Linked DNA regions of Homo sapiens: regions 1, 2 and 4 are each linked to region 3. The links are contacts of gene promoters, found by promoter capture Hi-C in blood cells and fetal thymus (Javierre and others, 2016). All regions are on one chromosome and are shown on one strand. Each heading gives the region's core, a stretch centred on a gene start or on the middle of the fragment in contact. The rest is flanking DNA. Distances are from core to core; before and after follow the strand shown.

Region 1 (3,606 bases), core at 659-3,158, 260 kb before region 3:
TTTTTTTTTTTGAGACAGGGTCTTACTCACTCTGTCACCCAGGCTGGAGTGCTGTGGTGTGATCTCAGCTCACTGGAACCTCTGCTTTCCAGGCTTAAGTGATCCTCTCATCTCAGCCTCCTGAGTAGCTGGGACTACAGGCACGCACCACCATGCCTGGATAATTTTTGTGTTTTATTGTAGAGACTGGGTTTTGCCATGTTGCTAAGGCTGGTCTTGATCTCCCGAGCTCGAGCAATCCTGCTTCGGGCTCCCGAAGTGCTGGGATTACAGGCATGAGTCACTGCGCCCAGCCTATAATAGTTTCAAAGAAAATAAAAAACAGAGTAGGCTGGGCCCAGTGGGCTCACACCTGTTATCCCAACACTTCATGAGGTGGAGGCAGATGGATGGCCTGAGGCCAGGAGTTCGAAAGCAGCCTGGCCAACATGGTGTAACCCTGTCTCTACTAAAAATACAAAAATCAGCCTGGTGTGGTGGTGCACGCCTGTAATCCCAGCTACTCAGGAGGCTGAGGCAGGAGAATCACTTGAACCCAGGAGGCGGAGTTTTTAGTGAGCCGAGATCACGCCACTGCACTCCAGCCTGGGCGACAGAGTGAGACTATGTCTCAAAAGAAAAAAACAAAAACCAAACAAACCAAAAAACATATAATAAATCTGAGAAAATATTTTTAAAGATTTCTACATAGAAAACTACAAAACATTGAGATTAATTAAAGTAGGTCTAAATCAATGTTTATAGTTTGAATACTCAATTTTATAAAGATGCCAGTTCTTCCCAAATTGATCTACAGATTCAACTTGATCCCAATACAAAACTCAATAAGACTGAGTGTCTGGGTAAGTTGAAAAACAGATTTTTCAAGATCACGCCATTGCACTCCAGCCTGGGCGGCAAGAGTGAAACTCCATCTCAAAAAAAAAAAAAAAAGAAAAACAGATTTAATAACGTACATGGAAATGCAAAGATCTAAGAATATCCAAGATCATCATGGAGAGAAGAGGTCAGAGTTGGAGGACTCACTCTCTCAGATATTGAGACGTCTGAATTGTTTCTACTCTTTTGCTATTACACACAGTGATGTACTAAACTGCTTTTGTATATATCTTTTGAGCATTTTTGCAATGTATCTTTGGGATAGAGTCTTAAGAGCGTGCTTCAGCATCTTGTCATATGGTTAAAAGTCATCGCATTTTTATTTTGTAAATGATGGGTTCATATCTCTGGTGCATTCTTCTATGGAGATATTCCCCATTTTTTTTAGGCGCTCTTTGTATATTAGGTACTAAGTTGAAGCCTATGAAATTGCCATTTTGTTAGGTCAAAAATGGTCAAATATCAGCAATTTCAAATGGCTTAACCTAAAATATAGATACTTTTGTAAATGTTTTTCTCGCTTTGTTTTTTTACTTAGCATGTTTTTTTTTGAGACAGAGCCTCACTCTATCGCCCAGGCTGGAGTGCAGTGGCAAAATCTCGGCTCACTGCAACCTCCGCCTCCTGGGTTCAAGGAATCTTCCTGCCTCAGCTTGCCGAGTAGCTGGGACTACAGGCGCACACTGCCACGCACAGCTAATTTTTGTATTTTTAGTAGACATGCGGTTTCACCATGTTGGCCAGGCTGGTCTTGAACTCCTGACCTCAGGTGATCACCCATCTCGGCCTTTCAGAGTGCTGAGATTACACGTAAGAGCCACCACGCCCGGCCAAATTTTATATTTTTATGTAAACGTATTTATCAATCTTTTTCCTTGTTGTTTCTGGAAATTGAGTCATAGGAAAGTTTCTTTATTTGTAGGTTATACAGTAATTTCTCCATGTTTTCCTTATTTTACATCTAAATATGTGATCCATTTGGACTTTATTCTGTTGTATGGTATAAGAATGGGCTCAATGCGTCCAGGTGCGGCGGCTCACATCTGTAATTCCAGCACTTTGGGAGGCCGAGTCGGACGGATCACGAGGTCAAGAGATCGAGACCATTCTGGCCAACATGGTGAAACCCCATCTCTACTAAAAATACAAAAATTAGCTGGGTGTGGTGGCGGGCGCCTGTAACCCTGGTTACTCCGGAGGCTGAGGCAGGAGAATAGCTTGAACCTGGGAGGCAGAGGTTGTAGTGAGCCAATATCGCACCACTGCACTCCAGCCTGGCAACAGAGTGAGACGCCGTCTCAAAAAAAAAAAAAAAGAATGGACTCAATTTTGTATTTCTTTGTAGCCTTCTGGGTATCTTAATACCATGTATTAAAATTTTCCCACTGGTTTGAGATGTCAACTTAATTGTATATTGAATTTCTATGTTCAGTTGGGTCTATTTCTGGATTTCCTATTCTGTTTGATTTGTGTGTCCATATATGCACATATCAATACCATACTGGGGTTTTTTGTTTGTTGTTGTTTTGAGACAGCGTCTCCTTCTGTTGCCCAGGCTGGAGTGCAGTGGCACGATCAGGGCTCACTGAAGCCTCCATCTCCCAGGCTAAAGCAATCCTCCCACCTCAGCTTCCCAAGTAGCTGGGACTACAGACATGCACCACCACTCCTTGCTAATTTTTTTTAAATTTTAGTAGAGACAAGGACTCACTATGTTGCCTAGAATGATCTTGAACTTCTGAGCTCAAGTGATCCTCCTACCTCGGCCTCCCAAAGTGCTGAGATTGGAGGCATGAGCCACGTGCCCAGCCCATATAGATTTCACTACAGAGGCGCTATAGTGGGCTAGCCAACCCCCAAGTATTTCATTTGTTTTTTGGGATGGAATTTTCCTGACAATTCTTTGCTCTTTACTTCTTCTAAAGGACTTTTATGATCAACTTGTCCAGTTGCAGAAAAAACAATTTGATATTCTTGTTGGGACTGTGCTATCATTAACAGGGAGCATTACACTTTCTATTTCTTCTCTAGTTAGTTTTGACAAGTTTAAATTTTTTCTATGATTTTACCCATTTAACCTACGTTTTCATGTTTACTGGCCTAAAGTTTTTATCATCTTCTCTTACTATAAATATTTTACATTTTTGCTGACTTTGTACTTTTGTCTTTTTCTCATTCTTAGTCTTATTTATGTTTTTATAAATAATCTTTTTTCTTTGAGCAATCTTTCCAGAGGGTTGTCCATTTTCTTTGAATTTTCAAAGGAGTAAACTTTTGTCCTCTCTTGTATGTCTGTTTTCTATTTTGTGTTGGGTATTTAACTCACTCGTTTTTATTTTTAAATTTTTACTGATACAAGCATTAAATATTATAATTTTCCTGTAAGTTTTAGCTTTCCATCACACACATTTTGATGTGTTGTGTTTTCATCCTTCTTTTTTTTTCTAATTTTTTTTTTTTTGAGACGGAGTCTCACTCTGTTGCTCAGGCTGGAGTACGATGGCGTGATTTTGGCTCACTGCAACCTCCACCTCCCAGGTTCAAGCGATTCTCCTGCCTCAGCCTCCTGAGTAGCTGAGATTACAGGTGCCTGCCACCATGCCCGGCTAATTTTTGTGTTTTTAGTAGAGACGGGGTTTCACCATGTTGGTCAGGCTGGTCTCAAACCCCTAACCTCATGATCTGCCTGCCTCAGCCTCCCAAAGTGCTGGGATTACAGGTGTGAGC
Region 2 (3,372 bases), core at 595-3,094, 360 kb before region 3:
CAGCCTAGAGGGGTAGAGGGACAGCCACGATGTGGAATAAACAGTAAGACCCCGACCTGAGGAAGCAGTGGACCCAAGGAGGCTTTGGGGTGAGGCGGTTGATTGTACAACCTGTTCCCTATGCTCTTCTCAGCATCAGAAACACAGATTCTTTCAAGCTTAATTCTAAAGAGTCTTTAGACCTTTCTACTACGAGAGTTTGTAATCTAAGCCACTAATTTTCATTCTGGAGTTTGTGACACTCTAGTGAGCCCCACATTATCATAAGTGAATATTTTTAAAATTCGGCAATAGAATTCATTGTAGTTTGGCATACATTTTTATTTTATTTTATTTTATTTTATTTTATTTATTTTTTGAGACAGAGTCTCACTTTGTCACCCAGGCTGGAGTGCAGTGGCGCAATCTCAGCTCACTGCAACCTTCACCTCCCGGGCTCAAGCGATTCTCCTGCCTCAGCCTCCTAAGTAGCTGGGAGTACAGGTGCGTGCCACCACACCCGGCTAATTTTTGTATTTTTAGTAGAGATAAAGTTTCACCGTGTTGGTCAGGCTGGTCTCAAACTCCTGACCTCGTGATCCACCCACCTCAGCCTCCCAAAGTGCTGGGATTACAGGTATGAGCCACCGCACCTGGCCCTTGGGCATAAATTGTAACATAAGTGTATGTTCTTCGACACATTTAAGAGTGGAGTGATGGTGTCATAAAATTAAATAATGGGATGTTCTAAGTCCCTTAAGCTGGACCTTTCCAATCTGTGCATCAAAGCTAATTCTGCATTAAAGTGCAAGGACGGCTCACAAACCCCATAGTTGCCTGATATAGATTGGCAGGTGCATTCTCTTGGTTTCGTTTTTATTCCTGCTGAAATGTTTAATGATCTTGTGTGGCGTCATTCTGTTGCCGATTGTGTAAGAGAGAAGCTGGACCTGGGTGGAGACAGGCTTCTTAGGTGGCCTCAGTGGGCTGTTGGGCATTTATGGTTCTGCTGGTTGCAGCTGAGATCTTCAGACAGAATACTCTTCTCCTTGACCAGCGCTTATCTTTCAGATTGTGAACTAGGCCCAGACACCATTACCATTCACCATCTCTAACATTCTCTTATTCTTTGACTACATAAGGCACTGTCGTTCTAGGGGAAACATGATAGAGGAAGGAAGTTGGTTGCAGAAACCATTCTTTGAAAGACTTTTTTTTTTTTTTTAACTTAGTCAATTAAAATAGTCCTTTAAGGTGAACTTAGTTCTGAGTTTCTGGTCCTTTTCCCAGATGGAAAAGGATTTTCAAGAAAAAATCCTGTCACTTACTGAGCATGTGTGCCGGCTCCTTTTTGGCACTTCCATCCTCACCACAACCCTATAAAGGAGGGAGCTCGTGGCGAGGCAGCCCAGGTTTCTAGATAAGGAGAGTCTCGAGGAGGTTCCTTAACCTTCCTGTGGTGGTTTTTCTCCATTTTTAAAATGAAGAAACAGAGGCCAAGAGAGGTTAGGGAATTTGCTCAAGGTCGTGCAGCCAGTGGCAGCTGTTCTCACTCGGAGTTCTGAGAGAGGTAAGCCTCAGAAGCCGGGCATCCATTGTGTGTAACGTAGTAACGTCTTGCCTGTGCATCTAGAAAGGTACCTGTTATGTTCCGTTCATAGGAGAATTGAGAAAATATTAATAGTCACTTCATTTTAAGAACTCCAGTTGAAAAAGGCTAGACAGTCAATGTTTGTTCATTGTTTTTCTCCATTCTTCCCCAGCATGCGCGCTCTCTCATGCACACGCACGCATGCGCACGTGGCTGAGCCAAAGCCTAAGCTGCGAATTGAGTTTCGTTAATTCATGTGGAGGCAGCTGAGAGTGCCACCTGGTCCTGAAGAAATTGGGATACTTGTGGGCACAAAGGTGGACCTGAGATCACTGGAGCCAAGCTGGTGGAAGTGTTGACCACTGCCGTTGGCAGAGAGCTGTCATTACTGGTGCTTCAGGCCACAGCTCAGCAGGCTGTCCTTGTTCTGTTTTGTTAAGAGCCTAGCAGCATGGCTAGCTTGCAGGCATAATCCCAGAGCCTCTTGCTATCTGCCTGCAGGAAGTCTCTATGTGCTCCAGCACACTGAAGGAATTTGGTGCTCACTTTCTCCTGCTTTTGAGCTTTGGTCCTGTGTTATTACTAATCCTTAGAGGAAGATTTTGACTGTAACCACTTTCCTGAGTGCTCTTAAGGCAGGTCCAGAGGATTCTCACAGCGTGAAATGAGAAAACGCTCAGCCTCAGAAAAATGGAAGTTATTCTTTTAGTGCCAAAGTGTCATTGGACCACAGTGCAGCTTGGTTAATTCAGGTTAAGACTTAGCCCCTGGAACAGTGTCAAGCCAAGGCCTGTGTGGTTTCATCATAGATTTGTAAAACAAAAAACACGTGTGTTCTGGTAAATTCCAAGCGCACATTAGTGCATACGTGTATGTGCAGGAACACTCCCTGTAAGACTCTTGTTCTCATTTCACACTGGCGCGTCCCCGGGGCTGGGGAAATCATTTTCATTTTTGAGAGTAACCTTAACTAATTAAATGGATCAAGGGACTCTTTGTGTTTTGTTTTCATTTTGTTTTGTTTTTTACTTTAATGTACAGATAAATTAAGGGAAATAATAATTACCTTGAATAATTTTGATTCTCGTAACTAATTTTCCACCTATGTGTGTTTAGCTCAATTTTGAAATGGTTCACTGAAAGATTTCCAAATTTCTTATCACTGAAACTGAGTTATTTCACTTTTATGACTGTTAGTGACTCCTCTGTTTTATGTATTTCTGGTGCAGTATAATTCTTCTATGTCTGTGTGTCTGTGATAGATCTCAGTTCAAGTTAGCGTTTCCCGAGCACCCATCTTGTGTCAGGCACTCTGCTAATGATTGCGCAGGTTACAAGGTTTAGAGTGGCCACATCCCCTGTTCACTTGCAGTTTAGAGTCCAGTCGGAGGAAAGGGAGGAGGGGAATCATGTTATAGACATAACTTGATATCCTGCAGGACTCAGTGATGTATGAGCCACAAAAAGGTCACAGCTGAGTGAGAGAGTTGGTAATCATGGAAACAGGCGCATCGGAAACTCGCTTCCTATGGGTCAGTAAAGTGTGTATGAGGTGGTGTGGATGACAGCACATAGAGCTGGAGGGGTGGGCCAGCAGCAACCAGGAGAAGGCGTTCCAGGTGTCTGCACCCAAGGAGATCCTGGGGTCAGAGGCAGGACATGTGGGAAAAACCATTGGTCCCTTTTACCCAGGGAAGGACTCAAGAAGCCGAACGTGGTAGGAGATGGAGGCTCCCAAGCCCTGGCAGACGTTACAGCAGCGCTGAGCACTTTCAGGACCAGGACTCCAAGGTCCAGCTCTG
Region 3 (3,135 bases), core at 159-2,658:
TAGAGGTCAGCGACAGGTCTCTGGGCTCTCCCAACAGAGGACCAGCCAGGGAATTTGTTCTAGTTAAAACTAGAGGGTTTCCGTCTGTTTGCTTTTTTTCTGACTTTAGTCACTCTTGGTTTGTTATCATTTGTATTATTTATTTTACGGTTAAACTATAAGCCTAAGTTGCATCACTGGCGCCCCGAGAAACCTCCTCCCACAGGCCCGCTGGGGCTTTGTCCTTGGGCATCCGTGGCCTCTCCAAAGCCAAAAGACGTCGGGGCCAGCTCAGGTCGCCTGAGTAAACACAAACCTGGGAAGCCGAGGGCCCCCTAAGTCAGTAGTGAGGGAGCTCCTCCTGGAAACCCACAGCGACCCTGAAGGGCTCAACCTCGAGCAGGACCTTTCCTCCATATTCCAACGCAGTCAGAGGAGCCCTGGGTTCCCCCCGCGTAGCCTCACCGCCCCACGCCGGCCCACTCTGTCCCCTCATCCTCCCTTGCTGTCCTACTCTGTCCCTCGCCATCCCTCACAGTCCCACACTGTCCCTCACCGCCCCTCACAGTACCTCACCGTCCACTGTCCCACACTGTCCCTTGACATCCTTCATTGTCCCTCACCGCCCCTCACAGTGCCTCACTGTCCACTGTCCCATACTGTCCCACACTGTCCCTTGCCATCCTTCACTGTCCGAGTCCCTCACAGTCCCAAAGTCCCTCACTGTCCCACAGTCCCTCACCGTCCCACACTGTCCCTCACTGTCCTACACAGTCCCTCACTGTCCCTCATCGTCCCGCACTGTCCCTCACCGTCCCACACCGTCTCTCATCGTCCCGCACTGTCCCACACAGTCGCTCACCGGTCCACACGGTCCCTCATCATCCCACACTATCCTTCACTGCCCCACACAGTCCCTAAGTGTCCCTCACTGTCCCTCCCACGCCGCAAGCCCAGTCGAGAGCGGCTCCCCTCTCCCCCTCCAGGGCTTCTTCGGCCCACACGGCCAGCGGCGGCCCGCGGAGAGGAAAAAACACACAATCTTGCCCGGAGCCTGAATTTATGGGAAATCCCGCGCGAAGCGCGATGTGCCCTCAGTTCGGGCAGGAACAGCGGCCGAGGCCCGGGTCGCCGCGGGCTTCTGAGGAAAGCTCGGCGTTGAGAGGCTCCCAGGGCTGCCGCACGGCTCAGGCAGAGGAGCGGAGCTGCGGCCGCGGTCAGCCCGGAGACGCCTCTCCGGGAGACAAAGCCGGCTCCCTGCAGCGCCGCGATACGCCACGGTGGGCCCGGCGCAACGCCTCGGCCACGGCATCGCCCCTTTAAGCGGCGCGCGCCCTGATTGGCTGCGGGAGGAGGCGGGGCGGGACGCGGCGACCTCACGGCCCGGCGGCCTATGCTATATATAGAGGCGGCGGCGGCAGCCGCGGCGACGGCGGTCCGGTGCGAGGCAGAGTGCTAGCGGGAGCGCGAGCCAGCAAGAGGCGCCTGCGCGATGTCCGGGCCCCTGAGCCCGCGGCGCTGAGCCAGCCGGGACGGACATGCGCGGGAGGGCGCCGCGGGGCAGCCGCCGCTCCTCCGGGGTAAGGGGCCTGGCGCGCTGAGGGGGTGGGGAGGGCCACGCAGCGCTCCGTTCCCTCAGGGGGCCCCGCGCCGGGCGCCGGGATCCAGGCGGCTCCCCGACGCGAGGGCGGGGGCGTGGAGGGCGCGGGGAGGGTCGCCGCGACGCGGAGTCTCTGGGATGGAGGGAGAGGCCGGCCGGTCGCTCGCGGGCTTCTCCCCATTGAGGTGTGGAGAGCGGGACCCTCCCCGGCGGCGCAGCCCGGGCCTGGGGACGCCGCGAAGTGCCGGCGCCCGCCGCCTTCTCCACGCCGGCTGTGGTCGTCGCGCGGCCCCTCGGCTGGCCGGGGCCATGCACCCGAGCGCCCGGGATACGTCCCCGCAGCACCGGGACCGCAGGAGCGGACGGGGGTTCGGGAGCGGCGAGCATGAAGGTCCTCGTCCCGCAGCCTGCGCTCGCGGGGTTGCCCGGCGGGGATGAGCGTCTTCGGGCCTGGGGGCTTGTTTGATTTTTTTTTTATTTGTAAAAAGGGGGTTGCGTTGTCTTGTTCACACCGTGTACCCGTAAATCCTGTCTTGAAAGCTGGGGTGGGAGGCTCGGCGATTGCTTGCGGTGGTTGGTACCGGTTCTCTGGCGGTCAGCCCCGCTCCCTCTGCCTAATCTCACAGCGACGATGGTAATGCCGAAATCAGTATTTAAAAATTCGTCTAAGCTGTTCTGAACTCTTCCTTCTCTCCTAGAAACGTGATTCTTTGCTCTGAGTGTCTTAAGTACGGCTTTGAATGGAATCGGACTGCAAAATTATGTGTTCAAGACGTGAATGCTTATTGGGAATTTTGTGTGTGTATTTATATGTATATCATAGCCCTGTACAAATTAGATGACTCTTTAACCGTGAATGGTGCTGTATTAGTGCTTGCTAAGTCTTTATTAGGATTTCATCATTGCTTGAAAGAAACCAGTCTCTTACCTGATAAAAATATGAATAGATGGTTAGTCATAAACTTAAGTCAGAATGGAGACTGTAGCTTTAAAAGAGATGTGTCGGTGACTTGAGGTACACCTGCAACACAGGTAGGGCAAGACTGGTTTCTAGGCAACTGTCAGGGGTGAAGAAAGGTGAGGTTAAAATGCCCTTTTTTTCCCTTCCAGAACAAATGTTCAACCTTTTATAAATGTGTAAGAATGCAGTGGGTACACACATTTGTTGAGACTGAACATCCCAAGTTCACCGTACCTATTTTTTTAACTGCATTTCTTTTCTTATATTTCTGTAATTACAATATACAGTTTTAAGTGAAATTTTATTTGAACAGAGACCAAAGACAGGCTAGGTATCAGCAAATGATCAAATTTTGCAAAGACCAAAATAAAAGAAGCTGGTTTCTTGCTAACATGCTGGCTATAATTGGTTACCAATATGTTATCAAGCAAGTTCTTTTCCAGATATTAGCAAGTTTGAAGAAAAATAACAAAGGATTTAGCATGGACTTCAGAAACTATTTGTCATTCCCTTTGCTTCAAGCAGAAGTTTATTTTCACCTGTGTGTTCCAGGGGACACTCGATAATAAGTGATAGAGGTCTTAGACTAACGATT
Region 4 (3,335 bases), core at 530-3,029, 340 kb before region 3:
AAAGAAAGCATCGTTGTGTTCACACACATGCACAGACTCACGTGCACACACAGCTAGAATGTAAGCTCCTCGTGGGCAGGAATCTTCTCTCCTTTTCGTCCATTGTGGATGATGTGTACCTCCCATGTGTACAACAGCGGTGGGGTCTGACATAGCAGACACCCAACAAGTACTTGTTCTTGGTGTCTGGAAGTCAAGCTGTGCTGGGCTGAGGAGGCGGGCCCCATTCATGCAGTCCACGGGCAGCTCAGTGGCTGTTTCTTGGGCAAGCCCAGTTCCTCTCCCAACTCCAGGAGCGACTGGTCTTTATTCTCATCTCTGGCACAGCTGTTAAACACCCAGCTTTCCACTGTGGCAGAGAGGGTGCGTGGGGCACGGAAAAGCCCCAGGCCCTCCCCCACAGTCAGCCCTTCTCTTCTGCAGGGGGAGCTGATCACCTTCTATTACTATTGGAAGAAGACCCCCGAAGCAGCCAGCTCCCGAGCCCATCGTAGGCACCGCAGGCAGGCCGTGTTCAGGAGGATTAAGACTCGCACCGCGTCCACACCCGTCAACACACCCTCCAGACCCCCGTCCAGTGAATTCTGTGAGTAGGGGTCTTGGCATCACAGTGGGCGGAGGGGAGACTGTTCACGGGCAGCCTGTCCCACTCTGGGCCCGTAGGAGCTGATGGCTCCGGGAAGCATGAGGGGGTGTGCACCCGTGCTCCAGTGCATGTGTGAAGCCTGACCTAAACATAGACCGATGGTGGGGGCGGGGAGCAGGACAAGGATTCAGGAGGGAGACTTTAAAACATTATTTGTACATTTAAATATTTCTCATAAACTCAACATCATCTTAGGTTTTTACAAAAAATACACGTCTTGGCCTGGGATGTTTTTGGCCTTGTCCTGGGAAGGTTTTCCATTTGACAGATGATGTACTTGATGTCCTGCTTGAATTCTCATTGCACTTTTGGTTGTAAGAAGATCAGATTAACACTTTCTTCTTTTTCCTCCTGCTTCACCAAGATCCTCTTTTTGGTCCCAGTATGATGTACAATCTAATGATGCTGGAGCCCACACCTTCTCACCCCTAAAAAACTGGGGTGTAGCAAAAGTGCCTTATAGCTCTGTCCTGGCCCGGGACGCTGAACCTGAGGGGCGCCGGTGTTGCGCATGCAGGCGACTAGAAATCACCTAGCAGGACGGGTTGGGGGCGCTCGGTGAAGTTGGAATTTCTCAGGATTGCCTGGGCGTATTAGGGAGGGAGGCAGCATGGACGCGCTTGTCCCAGTTCAGACTCACCCGTTACGGGCATCAGTGGCAGGGCAGGCCCTTGGGTATGGCGCCTCACACACAGGCCCTCTGTCCTGGTGACTGACACTGAGGAGCTCGAAGTGGTCCTTTGCAGACACTGTCCTACCTCAGCCTGTGCACCCAGCCGCTCTGACTGGTGGCCAGAACCTGCAGTAGGCCAGAGGTCACAGGTGTTCCCCCCTCCCCCCCACCCCACCGGCCCAGCCTTGGCTGAGCATGATGGTGTCTCCCCCACCCCCACTATGTGCCTGCCACGCCCAGTGGACCTAAGTTCAGCCAGTGAAGATGACTTCGACAGTGAGGACAGTGAGCAGGAGCTGAAGGGGTACGCCTGCCGCCACTGCTTCACCACCAGTAAGTGGCCTCGTCACGCTCCTGGGGCGGGGCGGGGGCACAAGCACTTCCATGTTCTGAACATTTCATGCATCCAGCTGGAAACCTGCCAGGGACAGTACTTGATTTGACATTTGCATTGTGCTTCGGGATTCGAGAAAGTTAGAAATGTTTAGTTTACTTTACTCCTCTGCTTGGCAGTCGGTATGGAATACTGACTGGTAGGCAGGACAGATTGAGTGGGATTGGGGGGTTGACACTGTAGTTCCCAGGAGCTTGCTGCCAGCTTTTCCTGGGCACCCCAAGTTGAAGTGGGCAGCAGATGCCCCTGAAACCCTCTCCTGGCCTTGGGGGAGCAGGGCAGCACTAGCCCTGGGGTGTTGGGGCCCAGGGCTGCATGGTGCTGGTGGCATCAGGTTTGGGTAGAGCCCACAGAAGGGCCCCTCTGCCCAGACATCCCCAGGGAGAGGGATGGTTTCCAAGGTTGGCCCCCACCACTTCCCTCACACAGCCTCCAAAGATTGGCACCACGGAGGCCGGGAGAACATCCTGCTTTGCACCGACTGTCGCATCCACTTCAAGAAATACGGTGAGCTCCCGCCCATTGAGAAGCCCGTGGACCCGCCACCGTTTATGTTCAAACCCGTCAAGGAAGAGGATGATGGGCTCAGTGGGAAGCATAGCATGAGGACACGGCGGAGTCGGGGCTCGGTGAGTCCCCTGGGGCCATGGGGCTCCTGGCAACTTCTTCAGTTTCCTGGGATGTGTGGGGGCTTGAGCCTCCCAGGGGGAGGAAGCGAAAGTCTTGTTTACCAGACAAAGTCCTGGAGGGGAGCTGCTTTGCCCGAGGCGGTAGCTTGCCTGTGGGCTGGGAAGAGTTCTCTGTTCTCTCCTTCGAGGGGCCCCAGGGTGGCATCCTGCTCTGGGTTTTGTAGCAAGCTCTTAGCTTCTGGCTCAGTGCAGGCTCTCCAAGGCCCCTCTTGCTCTCCAAGGCTGCTGCTTGTGGTGTCACTTCCATTGTATCAAATCTCTGCTATTTTAAACTTGCAGGCTCTTTTGTGTTAGTGTGTTTGTGATTTTTTTTAAATGTTTGATCCCGTTTTGGAAACTTCCGATACATTTTTCTGCTCACTGCATAGCTCCTCCCATAAAGAGACTTTGTTTCCTAGGTTGGAAATGTGCCAGGGACTTTGGGAGAGGCTTTTTCCAGGTTTGGGGCTGAGGGTACTGACAGGGTCTTTCCCTTCAGCCTCCCTTATGGCCCCTTCTGGCAGGTGGGTGGGACCATCCACTTTCCTCTGCCCCTTGTATGCCGTTGAGGCTGCTGGCAGCCCGGCCCCCGCTCACTCAGAAGGGAGCAGGTCAACCAGCCAGAACCATTGTCTCCTGATCTCTTCTGAGCCCTCATGGCTTTGCAGAAACATGCTGAAGCGCTTGGCGGCTTGGGGAGCTGAGCTGCTTTACTTGACAGCTTCATCTCTTTGGGTCACTTCCTGTCCTGTCAGATTAAATCCACAAGTGTTTGATTTCATTTGGTTTGGTTGGGAGAATGGACGGTTATGAGGAATAAACAGAAAGGGTGTAGGGTGCTTTAAAGATGGCCCCAGGCGACTTTCTGCCGCTCAGAAAGTGTGGTTCATTTCCAGCACACGTTGTTCAGGACAGTCCCTTGGGATGAGTGCTTTAGGTTTGAGAACCGCCCTC

Evidence for each region. Contacts are between HindIII fragments. The CHiCAGO score rates a contact against its expected background, and 5 or more counts as called.
Region 1: a fragment that was not itself captured here is called in contact with the fragment with the promoter of ERRFI1 in region 3 in 3 of 17 cell types (M1 macrophages, M0 macrophages and total CD4 T cells); the score reaches 6.4 in M1 macrophages.
Region 2: a contact is called between a fragment that was not itself captured here and the fragment with the promoter of ERRFI1 in region 3, in 1 of 17 cell types (M1 macrophages). The highest score is 5.2, in M1 macrophages.
Region 4: a contact is called between a fragment that was not itself captured here and the fragment with the promoter of ERRFI1 in region 3, in 12 of 17 cell types (naive CD4 T cells, total CD4 T cells, activated CD4 T cells and 9 more). The highest score is 10.4, in naive CD4 T cells.

What each region holds. Positions count from the first base shown.
Region 1 is chr1:8,285,590-8,289,195 of GRCh38, reverse strand. All of the region lies in intron 1 of LINC03154 (long intergenic non-protein coding RNA 3154), which reads right to left. Among named protein-coding and RNA genes, the nearest start is that of LINC03154, 28 kb to the right of the region's middle. RefSeq lists an enhancer at 370-870. The HindIII fragment of the contact is 9,150 bases long and covers 1-3,606 here.
Region 2 is chr1:8,380,845-8,384,216 of GRCh38, reverse strand. The region is part of intron 12 of RERE (arginine-glutamic acid dipeptide repeats); the gene reads left to right. Among named protein-coding and RNA genes, the nearest start is that of RERE-AS1, 42 kb to the left of the region's middle. The HindIII fragment of the contact is 3,368 bases long and covers 161-3,372 here.
Region 3 is chr1:8,024,582-8,027,716 of GRCh38, reverse strand. It overlaps ERRFI1 (ERBB receptor feedback inhibitor 1), which reads left to right and starts at 1,408. Exons shown (of 4, transcript NM_018948.4): 1 at 1,408-1,559. It overlaps ERRFI1-DT (ERRFI1 divergent transcript), which reads right to left and starts at 1,224. Exons shown (of 3, transcript NR_185980.1): 1 at 296-1,224. RefSeq lists silencers at 1,323-1,372, 1,493-1,592. The HindIII fragment of the contact is 13,168 bases long and covers 1-3,135 here.
Region 4 is chr1:8,363,063-8,366,397 of GRCh38, reverse strand. RERE (arginine-glutamic acid dipeptide repeats) reads left to right here. Exons shown (of 23, transcript NM_001042681.2): 13 at 424-586; 14 at 1,560-1,652; 15 at 2,143-2,342. Among named protein-coding and RNA genes, the nearest start is that of SLC45A1, 47 kb to the right of the region's middle. RefSeq lists an enhancer at 767-1,737. The HindIII fragment of the contact is 4,320 bases long and covers 1-3,335 here.